Regions from separate parts of the Homo sapiens genome. Here all the other regions are linked to region 2. The links are contacts of gene promoters, found by promoter capture Hi-C in blood cells and fetal thymus (Javierre and others, 2016). All regions are on one chromosome and are shown on one strand. Each heading gives the region's core, a stretch centred on a gene start or on the middle of the fragment in contact. The rest is flanking DNA. Distances are from core to core; before and after follow the strand shown. Region 1 overlaps GPC6 (glypican 6). Region 2 holds the start of GPC5 (glypican 5). Region 3 overlaps GPC6 (glypican 6).

Region 1 (4,362 bases), core at 1,497-3,996, 3.0 Mb after region 2:
GCTGGGATTACAGGCACCCACCACCACACCTGGCTAATTTTTGTATTTTTAGTAGAGACAGGGTTTCACCATTTGGTCAGGCTGGTCTCAAACTCCTGACCTCAAATGATCCTCCCGCGTCGGCCTCCCAAAGTGCTGGGATTACAGGGGTGAGCCACGGCGCCCGGCCGTGGCTCTTCTCTTTCTTCGGCCATCGTCCTCCAGGGTTGCACCATGTTCCACCCTCTCAGTCTTCTTCCCAACCAAGGCCAAGTGTCAGTTACCTTTTATTTTCATGCATGCACTATTGCTTTCTTCTGGAAGAGAAAATAATCCCCATACACATCGTACTGAAAGTGTAAAAATGCAAAAGTAGTCCATGAGGGAGTCATGTTTCAAGGGAAAAGTGTGAGACTATCTCTTGTGAAAATGAATGAGGAAATGAAATGATGAAATTGTATGCTATTAATATCAATCTAAATGTGTCTATGAAAAGAACAGAAATTGCTTCCCTACATTATCAGTTGCTACCTTCTCAGTGAGGCCTTCCATGAGCATCCACCTCCACACATGCTTCCAGTCCCCCCCTCCACTTTAGTTTTCACTTTAGCACATGCCATGTATATTTTTATTGTATAATTCTTTTTTTAACTTAATTTTAAGTTCTGGGATACATGCGCAGGACATGCAGGTTTGTTACATAGGTAAACGTGTGCCATAGTGGTTTGCTGCACCTATGAACCCATCACCTAGGTATTAAACCCCGCATGCATTAGCTATTTATCCTGATGCTCTCCCTCCCCCTGCCCCCACAACAGGCCCCAGTGTGTATTGTTCCCCTCCATGTGTCCATGTATTTTTATTGTTCAGCTCCCACTTATAAGTGAGAAAATGCTGTTTGGTTTTCTGTTCCTGTGTTAGCTCCATCCATGTCCCTGCAAAGGACATGTCCCTGCAGCTCCATCCATGTCCCTGCAAAGGACATGATCTTGTTCCTTTGTCTGGCTGCATAGTATTCCATGCTGTACATGTACCATATTTTCTTTATCCAGTCTATCCTTGATGGGCATTTAGGTTGATTCCATGTCTTTGCTATTGTAAATAGTGCTGTAATGAACATACGCGTGCATGTGTCTTTATAACCGGATGATTTATATTCCTTTGGGTGTATACCCAGTAATGGGATTGCTGAGTCAAATGGCATTTCTGGTTCTAGGTCTTTGAGGAATCACCACACTCTCTTCCACAATGCTATATATTTTACTGGTTTATTTCATTTGTTGTTGGAATCTTGTAATGCAAATGTAGGCTCCATAAAGGAAGGGGTTTTTGCCCTCTTTTGTTCACTACTTCATCCCTGGTACCTAGGAGAGTACCTGAAAAAGAGTAGATGTTTGATGAATGAACAAACAAACTCAGCTCGCTTCTCTAATTTACTTTATCTGCATGATCTGCCTGAAAGGATGAAGCAGCTGTGGATAGGCTAAGAGAAGAGCCATCACTCCTGGTGAAGGAAGTTACTTCTGGCAAGTAACATAAGCAAAGGCTTGAGCTGGCAGGGAGCACGTGGAAAGGGAAATAGGGCTCTGTGAGAAGTAGAGCCTAATTAAAATGAAAAATGTAGCTGGGCATGGTGGCATGCATCTGTAATCCAAGCTACTTGGAAGGTTGAGGCGGGAGGGTTGTTTGAGCCCGGGAGTTCAAAGCTGCAGTGAGCTAGGATTGCACCACTGGACTCTGGCCTGAACAACAGAGTGAGACCCTGTCTCAAAAAAAGAAAAGGTAAAAATGAAATAATGCATTTAAAATGGAAAATGTGTCATGGAGTTGCCAGTTAAGAATCCATGATTGATAGATGTGAACAAGACACCACTCGTCTGTCCCCTGTCATCAATCTGGACCATTGCCCACCCCACCTGGCTTTCCCAGCGCCATACCTGTGTATCCTTCTGGACCCCACCTGGGCTGTTCTAGCACCCTTCAATGATTCTCCAGAAAAAATACTAAACTGCTCACAGTAGACTATAAAACCCTGTAGGATCTCCTGGCCCACTTCTCTGGCCCCAACTCCTGCCTCTCCAACATATGCACTTTGCCTTTCAGTTGCACCAAACTAACTACTTTCCAAACCCTTAGTGGGTTTGGTCCACATGAGCCTTTCAACATGGGCTCCATCTGATTGGGAGCCCCAACACCAGCTCACTCTTCAAGATCAGCTCAGAGAGACAGAGAGACCCCTGTGGGAGCTTCTCCCTAGAGCCCCTACTTGGCAGACCCAGGACCCCTACTCTGTACCTCTGGACCATCTGATGCTCCGCGGGTAATACTTATCCATCAGAAGCTGCATGCATCGCCTGTAAGATACAGCGTGAACACACAATTCTGCGGCACTCTTGGCCAACTGATGGTACCCAGGCCTTGAGAATGCCTCCCTCGCTCCTTGAACCCTCCCTAGAAATTGATTGGTTTTCTCATTAAGTGGTCACAGCCCTAAGGTACCACCACCATGTGTCTATTTTCACTGGTCCTGAGTTAACCTGTTATGCCCTATCCCCTTTACTGTGGTGTAAGTGCCCTTACCTTTTCCCATTTGATCTCAGTTTAATTAACTTTGGGTCACTGGTTTCTGCTCTTGAAAATACATACTCTACACTCAGCTTTCATTCTTCTCAACTCAGTTCTTGTCAATGTTGACATCACGTTGTACTACTGTCTGTTTTTATGTCTATACCTCCACAGAAGAGAAAGCTCCTTGAAAGTAGAACCGATGTCTTTTCATCTTTGTAGCCCCAATGCCTAATGCGGTATCTTGCACAGAGAAAACCCTTAATGAATGTTTGTTGACTGAATGCATGAACACATGCAGCGATACAGCCATTGCCATTGGTCTTTAAGAGAAAGGACCATGGCACTTTGGGAAGCCGAGGAGGGTGAATTACCTGACATCAGGAGTTCGAGACCAGCCTGACCAGTATGGTGAAACCCCATCTCTACTAAAAATACAAAAATTAGCCTGGTGTGGTGGCATGCACCTGTAGTTCCAGCTACTCAGGAGGCTGAGACAGGAGAATCACTTGAACCCGGAAGCAGAGGTTGCAGTGAGCTGAGATAGTGCCACCGCACTCCAGCCTAGGCGACAGAGCAAGACTCCGTCAAAAAAAAAAAAAAAGAAAAAGGAAAAAAAGAAAAAGGACCATGAATTAAGTTATGGCAGCAGTACTACATATTCAAAAAACTAAGTAAAGAAAATAAAGACAGATTTTTTTTAATTACTGCAATCAGATTCATTGGTCATGAGAACCTGACCTATAGGCTTAGAAGAAGTGAAAAGATGGATATAAAAAGCTAGACTAAATCTGAAAATTAAAAGACCTTTCAGAGAAAGAAAACAAAGTTGAAGTCACAGGGTTGAGCTTGCCCTGGAGAGATCACACTGTCTACTCTTTAACCCCATGGGTCTGAGTTTTCAGATTTCCCGTGTATCAGGATGAGTTGGGGATACAAGTTAAGAGTGCGAATCTCCAGACTGCAGGTCTAGTACCTGTGTCTGTACTGAGAGCACATTGTGTGAACACCTTGGCATGGTGACCCCAGGACCACCTATGCCTTAACCATTTTTGATCAGGGAAAAGCTCTTTTCCTTGTAAAGATGACTACAGAGTTTCCATGATTTTCTAGGATACTCAGCATGTTTTTCCTGAAATCCTCTTTTTCATCATGTTTTAGGAAAGCCTGTTCTAATGGCTTTGTTTTCAGAAAAAAACTGTTTTTAAAATGTCAAGCGAAAGAGATTTCTAAGTGTCTCTTCTTGTTGTGGAGTCACCTTTTTGGACCAAAAAAAGTAAAATCAAGTTCTGGACAAAAGTTCTAGCTCCTCTGAAGTTTGTCCTTTCCTCTCGACCATATAAATAATGGAGAAGGGGAACTTACTGGTATATCTCATTTAGGCACTTGGATAAATAACACCCCACTTTCAGTTATCTTTGGAAAAAACATTGAGAAACCCTCTTACCTTTTTGAGGACAAAAGAAGCAAATTGAAAATGCACTAGGCCTTTTTTAAATATTTGTGATTTGGCTTGAAAAAGAAGGTCGGTTTTCCACATAGGAAATAATTTGAAGAAATAAAATGAAAACTATTTTCAAAAGACTGTTTAACTTTCCTTTAATTATACTAAAAAGAATAATAAAGAGCATGAAGCATATTGGAATTTGTCATTTATGGATCACCATGGCATAGTATAAAAATTCAGAAGTAGCTTCTAATGAGAAAAATACAAAAAATAATATCAGTGAATTTTATATTTATTAATCTAGGGGAAAAATTGAGAGGTTAGGGTTCCATTCTGTTCAGAAAGACTCACAGTGTAACCTCACATGCCAG
Region 2 (4,493 bases), core at 1,304-3,803:
TTTTAAATAATGACCATTTAAGGATTCTCCTATCCAAGGGTATTGGTATTTTGAAAGCAAAGCGCAATGCCTATTATATAAAAGACATTCAATACATTTTTTAAATACATTTTGTAAAATAAGGCATTATAACTATCAAATTATGGACAGTTTTCCCTAGCTTCATTTGTAATGTTTACCAGTAAATTGAATAAAAGGCTAGTTATGGTATAATTTGCAGAGGTTGCTCTAGAATGTTCTTATAAAAGGGATCGTGGCATTGTGTTCTGGGTGGAACTAGAAAACTTGTCTTGAAGCTTGGTAGCTTCAGTAGCAGGCATACTGTTGCCTTGCGTGGTGGGCTTAGGGATGCTAATAGGACAAGATGCCCTTCCAGGCCACATGCTGGCTCATCCACTTTGCTAGCAGTTATGGATAAGAGGTAGAAGGAAAATATATTTATTTTTTGTTAATGGGGATATTTTATACAGACTAAATATATTCTTGTTAGTTCCTATGGCATTTCTATAAATGACCTCCCACCTGTTTTGTTAACTTATAAAATCACTGAGAAAACTTGCTTGTGTGTCTCTTTAAACTCCTGTTAAGCCTAGAATAGCGGTTAAAAAAATTGTATGTTTTCAACCAATATGTATTAGTCAATTAGCTTTTACTGAACCATCAATACTCAGTTGTGTTTATGATTTTTATCCTTGCAAGACACACCGTTTTAGAGATTCCAGTTAATGGGATAGATGGTAATTTAAGGATCTTTTTGATGCTAAGAGTCTAAGATGATCAAATCTATCAAGGAGAGATCTTGGTAACAATAAAGATGTTTTAGAAAAACTTGGGAATTTATTAGCCTTATATAGAGATACACATAATTCCAGTAGAATACAGTTATATAGATAGAAATTATGCATATTTACTAGTAAAAAATCTGCTAAATGAATAAACAGCCCTTGGTGTTGCTGCCCAAAGGCCTTTGGTGAAACCTGATGGGTTTTTCTGTACCACAGAATAGTCAAGGAGAGCCTCTGGAGAAGAGCATGCGGTCTGGATTTGGAAGCCTCAGTTTGATTTCTGGCTTTGTCACTTACCTTAGGCATTCAGTAAGTCACTTCACCTCTGTGTTCCTGTTTCCTCATCTGTAAAACAATGATAATAGTAGTAACTACTTTATAAGGTTGTTATAAAGATTACATGAGTGAATTCATTTCCATAAAATACTTAGAATATTATCTGGCCCATAAGCACTATATACATTCTCATGGTTTTTCTTGTTTCTTTTCATAGATATAGGTGGCTTCCAGACAATCTTTCCATACTTGGTGGTTAGAGCAGAAGAGATTCATGAAGAGCACTGCCCTTTGAAACAAAATCTCATATTCAGAAAACTGATGCCAAACACCAAGTAGCATGATTTCACTCTGAAGCAGTGTTTCAGCCATTGCCCTGGAATGGTTTTAAAGCAAGTGATATACTGCTGAAAGTGCTGCCTTTGATATTAAATGTTCATTAAAAATCTTCACTAAGACATAAAGTTTTTCACTACTATCTCTTGGTAAGGGTTCAAATTTGAGATGAAATTCCTTAAAGTGGTTAAAGCATTCATTGTCCCCTCTGCCTGATGCTTTTAACTAGTTTATTTTACAGAAGGAGTACTCTCTTCAAGTGGCTGTAGATTGAGACACTCTTACAGGCTTAGTTGTTGAGTCAACCACATTTAAAAAATGCACCTGCCCTTTGGTTTATGGTGCGTAATGCATTCCTCTCATAAACTGTAAATTGACAAAATTCCTTTGCCATTTTAAAATTGCTTAAAGTATTTATTTTTCTATATTCCTTGTAAGGAACTCCCCTGAGCACTCTTAACTTAATTGCTCTCTGAAAAATATTTTAAAGAAATTCCAGAAGTGGTAAAGCTCAGAGGAGCCCCACAAATACAAAGTGCTGAAGTAAAATATGATGCTAAATGGTGATAAGAGACTTAAAACTAGATTTCATTGTGATAAGAATGTGATAAAGTTTGATTGTAATTCTTATACCTCCTTTCAGAAAATCATGTTATAGAAAAATGTTCCTAAGCAGTAAAACAAAGCCATTTTAAAAAATAACTTCTCATGTGCACTCTTTAACAACCTAAGTGTTATGAAGTCTCTCAATTGAGATCTTTAACCGTAAATAGTTTTTGCCTTTTGTATTATGTCCAGATCCTATTTAATGCAATTAGAATACAAATTCCTATGTACTGAGGACCTTGATTACATAGATGAGATATTTCTTAGTTCCAGTTGGTGTTTCTCATCTCTTGTCTTCTCTGACCCTATTTATACATTCTCTGTTTTTATCAGATGATTCTTCCCCAGAACGGACTGGGAGAGCGAGGTCCGGGTTTCCTTCTATTTATTTGCATCGATGTCGCTCCGAGTCTTCAGCACTGGGCCGCGTATGACAGCATCTTAGTGGGTGCGGAGCGGGACAGCGCGCCGGGGGCGTGGCAGGGGCGTGGCCTGTCCGCGGGGCGGGGAGTGCGGGGCGGGGCTTCCGCGGAGCGCAGCGAGCGGGCACATCCCAGGTTAGCTGCTGCGAGCCGAGCCGGGCGGCGGAGGCGGCGGCGGCGGCGGCAGTGGCGGCAGTGGCGGCAGTGGCGGCAGCGGCAGCAGTTGCAGCAGTGGTGGCCAGAGCGGATGCTTGCGGGCTCCCTGCGGCTCCACTAGTTTTCTTCGCCCCGCCCAGCCGCCCACTCTTCTCGGCTAGGGAAGAAGACCAGAGGGTGCTCAGCTGGAAAACTCTGGTGTCTCAGCTTAGGGCCTCCTCCGGGAAGAGCTAACTGCTCCCAGGTGAAGCCGGTGCCCGCGGGCGGTCCGTACACCCCGCAGCCGGCTCGCACCGCTCGAGAGCCTCGGCCGCTGTGTCTTCCACGTCTGCAGCTCAGCCAGGGCGCGCAGGGCGAGTGGGGTCCACTGGCGGGTAAAGGGGACCAGGACGGCGAGGATGGACGCACAGACCTGGCCCGTGGGCTTTCGCTGCCTCCTCCTTCTGGCCCTGGTTGGGTCCGCCCGCAGCGAGGGCGTGCAGACCTGCGAAGAAGTTCGGAAACTTTTCCAGTGGCGGCTGCTGGGAGCTGTCAGGGGGCTGCCGGATTCGCCGCGGGCAGGTAAGGGGCAATGAGGGGGTCTCTGGACTGGCGGCGTCCGAGCCCGGCCTTCGCTCCCCCAGGCTCCCTTGGTGGCACTCGTGGGAAGATGACCTTTCGGGCCCTGCAGCCGCGCAGGGTGAATCCCGGGGAGGCTTCCGGGGATGCTTGGTGCGGGTAGCCTGAGTGCAGCGCAGCGCAGCTCTGGGGACCCCTAACCAAGCCTGCGACGAATCCCCGTTCTGGGCATCTGCTTCCCGCCCGGCTCCCTTCGTCTTGGAGGATGAGTTGGAAGGAACCAGGAAAGCAGACATCAGGGCGTGGGGGACACGCAGTCTAACTCCGTTTCTCTTCCGAGTAGGAATTTCCCCAGTGCCCCACCGGGGATTTCGGTTTACTGCTTTCTCATAAGGTGGAGGGAATTGAATTGATCGCCCCAAGTTTGGTACTAAAAATCACAAACCTGCGATATACCCCTTTGCTGGAGAATGGGGCACAGACAAGGGCAGCCGGTCTCCTCTGTAATTAGGACTTGGACCCTGTGCACCCAGAGACGTGACCCTTAGCTGCCCTTCTGTGCCCTCGTATCAAGCCCTGCTTGGAGGAAACCCAACCACCCAGTGTGTCTCCCAGCACCAAGGTAGTTTTTAGCCTGAAAAGTGTTAGGGCAACAGGCGATCAAACCGAACGTACTGGGGAGTCACTTGACATGGATGAGATGTACCAGCGTTCCAAAGGGAAAGATACAGTTTGTGTGGCCAGCGTGGATCTTGCTTCCTGTGAGCGCCTTTTGCCTGTGCTTTCGAACCCTGCTCCCCGTTTCCACCGCACCAATTTCCTTCTGCTGGTGGGAGTTCCAGTGTAGGTTCTGTCTGGAAGAATAGGTCATAGCTGTCAAACGCAATAGCAGGTGTCTAGAGCTAAGTAAGATCTCACTAGAGCCATGCACCCCTTTAGCTGTGACTATGAAGCCAACACAGACGAATCTGTGAGGTTACTGGTTGAACAAAGAACTTGTGGAGGACGCTTAAGTCTAAAGTCCCGAGTTTCCAGGGTTGGGGGACTTGCTTGTAGCAATGAGGAAGTGTGAGCTGTAGCCGCTTTTCTTGATTGCTTTGCTCAATTTTAAGTCATCCCAGAAAGAAAATCTAGGCATTCGGGAACACTGACTCCATTTGAGTTTACATGACCAGTCTTAAACCCAGCTATTTCTTTGTATACCTGTTTGGTACTAGGTGCTTTTTCTGTATTACTTGAAACAAAGTTGACATTCTCAGTTTAGGGCGATTCTTCTATCCCCAAATAAAATATCGCCTTATAGATCTGTATTTTTCTTAGTGCATTCTTTTCATTAGGAAATAAATCTCACTTT
Region 3 (4,637 bases), core at 590-3,089, 2.9 Mb after region 2:
CTGGAGCTCCTGAGGAAGAACCCCGGGGGGGGCTGAAATGGAGTTGGTGAGATACTTCCCACTGACACTGGAGTTCTCAGCTTTATTTCCCTTTTGAAAGAGCTGGTTAGTATCTTTTAGAGTAAGATTTGTATTTCTTTCTTGCCCAAAATGGAGCCAGAGAGGGACAAAATAAAGAAACTAAAATGTCCTCAAGAATATCCAAAAAGAACAGAAGTGCAGGAAAATGATGCTTAAAATTTAAGCTCCTGAAAACATTTGGCAAAACGCTGGGTTCTCCCTGCATGTTCAACGTTAGGAATTTTCACATGAGTTCACAGTGTTCCCAGGGCCCACCGCACCCTGGGCCCCTCACATCTTCCACCTCGAAGGATGTCGTTCCCAGCAGCAGATCTGTGCCTCGCAGTACCGTCTGCAGCTGCCATTTGCTTAGTCTGGGAGATGTCCAATTCCTCCCTCAGAAGAGAATCACGCTTTCATTTTCCCTTTGAGGTAGCATGTCCCAAATTACACAGCCAAGGTCTTCATCCCAGGGGGGAGGTTTATTCTCCACAGGATCTGCAGACAGTGAGAAAATGCATCTGATCTTGAAAACTGTGGTTGAACAATTGTGTAAATGTAATTGAAATTCATGTTTTTCCAGATGAAAATGGACCTCCATTCACAACATGGGATTGAATGGGTTTAGGAGATTCAGAAAATCTTGGGTTGTCTGATAATTTCCCAATATTGCTTTACTTCTCCTCCTCCTCTTCCTCCTCCTCCTTCCTCCTACTCCTCCTCCTCCTCTTCTCTTACCTTGGTCCTATTTGGGACAAAAAAAAAATCCCTGGGTCAGAAATTTTACCCTTTCCCATAAACATGACTTTTTGAACCTCCCAAGAGGCAGAAACGAAGCCAAATGTGATTACTCAGCCTCTAAAGTTTCATCATGTAGTGATTCATCAAAGGAGCTGAAGGTACTGCGCATTGCTGAACTTGAATATGCCTTCTGAGAGGCTCCTACCATGTTGCTTTCATGAAGAAATAGTGATCCTTGAAAGGGAATTTCACACTGGAACAGAGCAACTGTGCTGCCTGCTTTCTCTGTGTTCCCTCGATCAGGACTGATAACTCCCTGCATAAGTTTAATCCCACCTTTCCTCTTCTTCTCTCTCTCACATTAGCAATTCTTATGGAAACGATGCAACCCTTGCCTATGTTATGCCTGCCTAGTAATAATTTTTAGGATCATTTTCAAAGATCCTGGGGCCAGCAAAATTTTTACCGTTTAAAGTCTGTTTGGCCACTGGCCAAGTGACCTTGGGCGAGTCAGTTAATTTCTCTGAGCCTCTAACTCAGGAACTCTCAGTCTTGACTGTACATGAAAATTACCTGGGAAACATTAAATACTGATGCCTGGGCCTCGTATTTAGAGATGTTGATCTGTTTGGCTTGGGACTGACCCAGCATCTGTATTTGGAAAGCTTCCTAAAGCATGTCCTTGGGGTGCAGCCAAGGTTGCTAGCCACTTCCCCAAGTCCTTGTTTATCAAAATGTGATTCCTAAACTGGCAGCATCAGTATCACCTGTTAAAAAAATGAAGAATCACAGGTCCTACCCCAGGCCTGCAGCATCAGAACCTGCATTTCAACAAGATCCCAGGTGATTCGTAGGTACATCATGCTAAGAGAAGCACAGCTCAAATCCTTGTCTGTTAAAGGTGGATGATAATAGTCAATATGCAATGAGCTCTGTGCTCCATGTTTTTCCCTGTGTAATCTCAAAAAGGTACAGAGGAGAAACTGCATATTCACCTATATATCTCTTGAGACCTTAGCCTATTTCAAAAAGCTCTGGATACGAGATCTAGTGGGTTTGTTGGGTTGATTGCTGTCCTTTTATGTGGTTTTCTTAAGAGGCTGATTGTTACATTGATATAACCATATAAGACTGTTCTACGAGTTTAGTATCTTCCTCTGATCTCAGAAATTGGGCCTCCCTCCAAATATTTAATAAAAAAATTTGCCTCCTTTTTCTATCACATTTTAGATTGATTTGGAGGGTGCTACATCAACTCTAACTGGCAGATTTAAGAAACTGTATGCAGTGATTTTTAGGATGGGGACTAGTACAATAGGTAAACCAGAGTTGGGGTCAGCTAGTCAGACAAGTTTCTTTGCAGCAATCAGCAAACTATGACCTACGGGCCGAGCCACCTATTTTAATAAATAAAGCTTTATTGGAACACAGCCCTGCTCATTCATTTAGATATTGTCTAATGCTGTACTGACAGTACAATAGCAGCACTTAGTCATCTCGATAGAGACCCTATGGTCTGCAAAGCCTAAAATAATACTACCTATCCTTTCAGAGAGGAAGTTTGCCCGTCCCTGATTTACAGCAACCCCTAAATGAGGCCAGGGTTGAGTGATTGCTGACCATCTGGGCCCATATTTTTAGTTGGTTCCATAGCCCAGTGTACACCCCTAATCCCAAGCAGATTTTAAGCAGCTGTGTGGTTACATGGAGTCAGGCAGAGGGCCCAGAACTGATCTATCTGCATTGTAGCCACAAATAAGAACAAAGAGAGGTTCATCCTTGTCCACGGACAGCAGCATTTGTCTGTCAAGTTGTTGGAAGTATTGCTTGAGTGTCCACCTAAAATGGACCCTTCATAAATTCATGCATTTCCAAATAGTATGAGAAAGGATCCTAGTATGAAAATTCTGAGTTAAACCTGGGAATACAAAGATTTTTAGGCAAGATGGAAAGCAAGGATCACTACTTAGGAAAAGTAAAAGGTGAATTAATTTGGGTACCAGTCTTTTTCAAGCAAGAGATTTCTTCCTCAGGGAAAGTTTTAAGCATTGGAATATAGATATTAAGCCAATTTTGGATTATATCAAAGAGTTCGTCAACTAAAAACATGTGCTCTTCTCTCTCTTTTTTTCTTCTCGTCAATAAGCGATGGAGAAATCTAAAGTCATGTAAGATTTTATTTCTGTTCTCCATCTGAGTCTCAGTCATTGCAAACTATGAGGCAGTAATGCTTTGTGCAACAGGAATTAAAGAAGGGAGAGGTGGATAAGAGCAGGCTGGAAGAATCTCCCCGAACAGGTTCTAGAAACTGGACATTCCTTTGACTATTACCCGATATTCAAAAATTTAATTTTTTCTTTTATAATTCTTTTGGGCCCCTTTTCTCATCCTTTTTTGGCTTTGGTTTCTTCCAATAAGTGCTTATGAGGCCAAGAAGTTGGTCACTGGGGGCTTTAACAAGGCCCATGGATGGCAGCTGGATTCAGCTGAACTGTAGTAATTAGCCATCACCTAATCTTATTCAAATGGTGCTCCTAGATCTGCAATGTGATAAATTGTGAAAGTTCCAAGTAGGGGGAATAAAAGAACAAAAGAAAGATACTAGCAGTCTTGGGTCTGACGGATTGCTCAAATTATATTCTTGCTGTTCCATTTTGCAAGTTTTTATCAAAATGGAAAATGCGAAGTCTTTGCCTAATGTCTCTGTACATAGTTTTTGTTGCCAGTTTATTCTCTCTGGTGTGGGGCTGGCTCAGCCGTTGGTCTCTGGCATGGAGATACCAAAATGCAGCTAATCTGCCTTCTGAGTAGAGCTCAAAACATGTGATTTAAAATCTTATGATAGTTTCATAGAAATAATAATGCCGTTGTGTCGAATTGTTGCAAGAAATAGATTATTTTCGAAAAGGTTTTTGTTTCCTGTAATGTTCTGGAATTTTTTATAAACAAAATCAGTTTGGTGGTTTTCACTGAATTGACCAGTAATGAGTTTTGCTATGAGCGAATTTGATGTCAGGAGATTGCAAGAGAAGTAACAGATGTGAGGATCTCTGTTTACAAGAAAGACACTTTTCTCTTTGGCCACTGCCTGTGAGTTATGAGAGAGGTTAACATTTTCTTTTCTCTGTATGTTTACATGAAGTTTCTGGAAATCATTGCGAGGATTCTGTACATGACAGGATTTTCCCAGGGGCGATAGATGAGGGATTTAGAGATGAAATTGGTCTGTGCATCAGGGATGGGAAAGGATTCCAGGGTCTTCATCTGCTTTATGAATTAATATCGGTATACATTACCCTCTTAATATAGTGCTGAGCCAGGAAGTCTTGTGAGCCACCTAAGTTAGCTGTGAAATACTCAGGGCGTCCCTTAATTTTTTACTATAAATTTCTTCCACTTCATTTCTAACTTTGAAGTTTTAGGTAAAGATAGTTTCTCAACTCATATTTTGCCCTTTTCCAGATTATGCATTAGATGCAGTCATGGCCATAAATCTCACTAATGGCCAGTGCTGTACGGCATCTTATGGTCAGCATCTGAGTGTGCAGGCTCTCTGTGCTAATCCTGGGATTCCAGTAAGTCATAAAAACAGCGGCTTAAGAAAGTTTGCATTTTTCCCCTCTTGTCAAACTAAGATAAACCCAATTTTAGAAGAGGTACAGTTCCTATCCCTTCCTGGTGAATCCTAAAAGGAAATCAATACATCAATGCATTGTCCTTTAGTTGCACTTTGTACATTTTCCTGAGAACTTATGGCCAAATTAGTAAATGAAATGTGTAAGACATTGGGCAGTTTTGCAATGCACTTCAAGTCATCTGTCTTAATCCCTGCAATA

What was found. Contacts are between HindIII fragments. The CHiCAGO score rates a contact against its expected background, and 5 or more counts as called.
Region 1: a fragment that was not itself captured here is called in contact with the fragment with the promoter of GPC5 in region 2 in 1 of 17 cell types (naive CD8 T cells); the score reaches 5.4 in naive CD8 T cells.
Region 3: a fragment that was not itself captured here is called in contact with the fragment with the promoter of GPC5 in region 2 in 1 of 17 cell types (non-activated CD4 T cells); the score reaches 5.4 in non-activated CD4 T cells.

The regions. Positions count from the first base shown.
Region 1 is chr13:94,355,154-94,359,515 of GRCh38, forward strand. All of the region lies in intron 6 of GPC6 (glypican 6), which reads left to right. Among named protein-coding and RNA genes, the nearest start is that of DCT, 120 kb to the right of the region's middle. The HindIII fragment of the contact is 8,212 bases long and covers 1-4,362 here.
Region 2 is chr13:91,396,068-91,400,560 of GRCh38, forward strand. GPC5 (glypican 5) reads left to right here and starts at 2,554. Exons shown (of 8, transcript NM_004466.6): 1 at 2,554-3,142. The coding sequence starts at 2,980. LOC124903189 (a long non-coding RNA gene) reads left to right here and starts at 810. Exons shown (of 2, transcript XR_007063831.1): 1 at 810-1,094; 2 at 1,279-1,521. RefSeq lists silencers at 2,368-2,662, 2,369-2,638. The HindIII fragment of the contact is 9,875 bases long and covers 295-4,493 here.
Region 3 is chr13:94,329,006-94,333,642 of GRCh38, forward strand. The region is part of intron 6 of GPC6 (glypican 6); the gene reads left to right. Among named protein-coding and RNA genes, the nearest start is that of GPC6-AS1, 140 kb to the left of the region's middle. The HindIII fragment of the contact is 750 bases long and covers 1,465-2,214 here.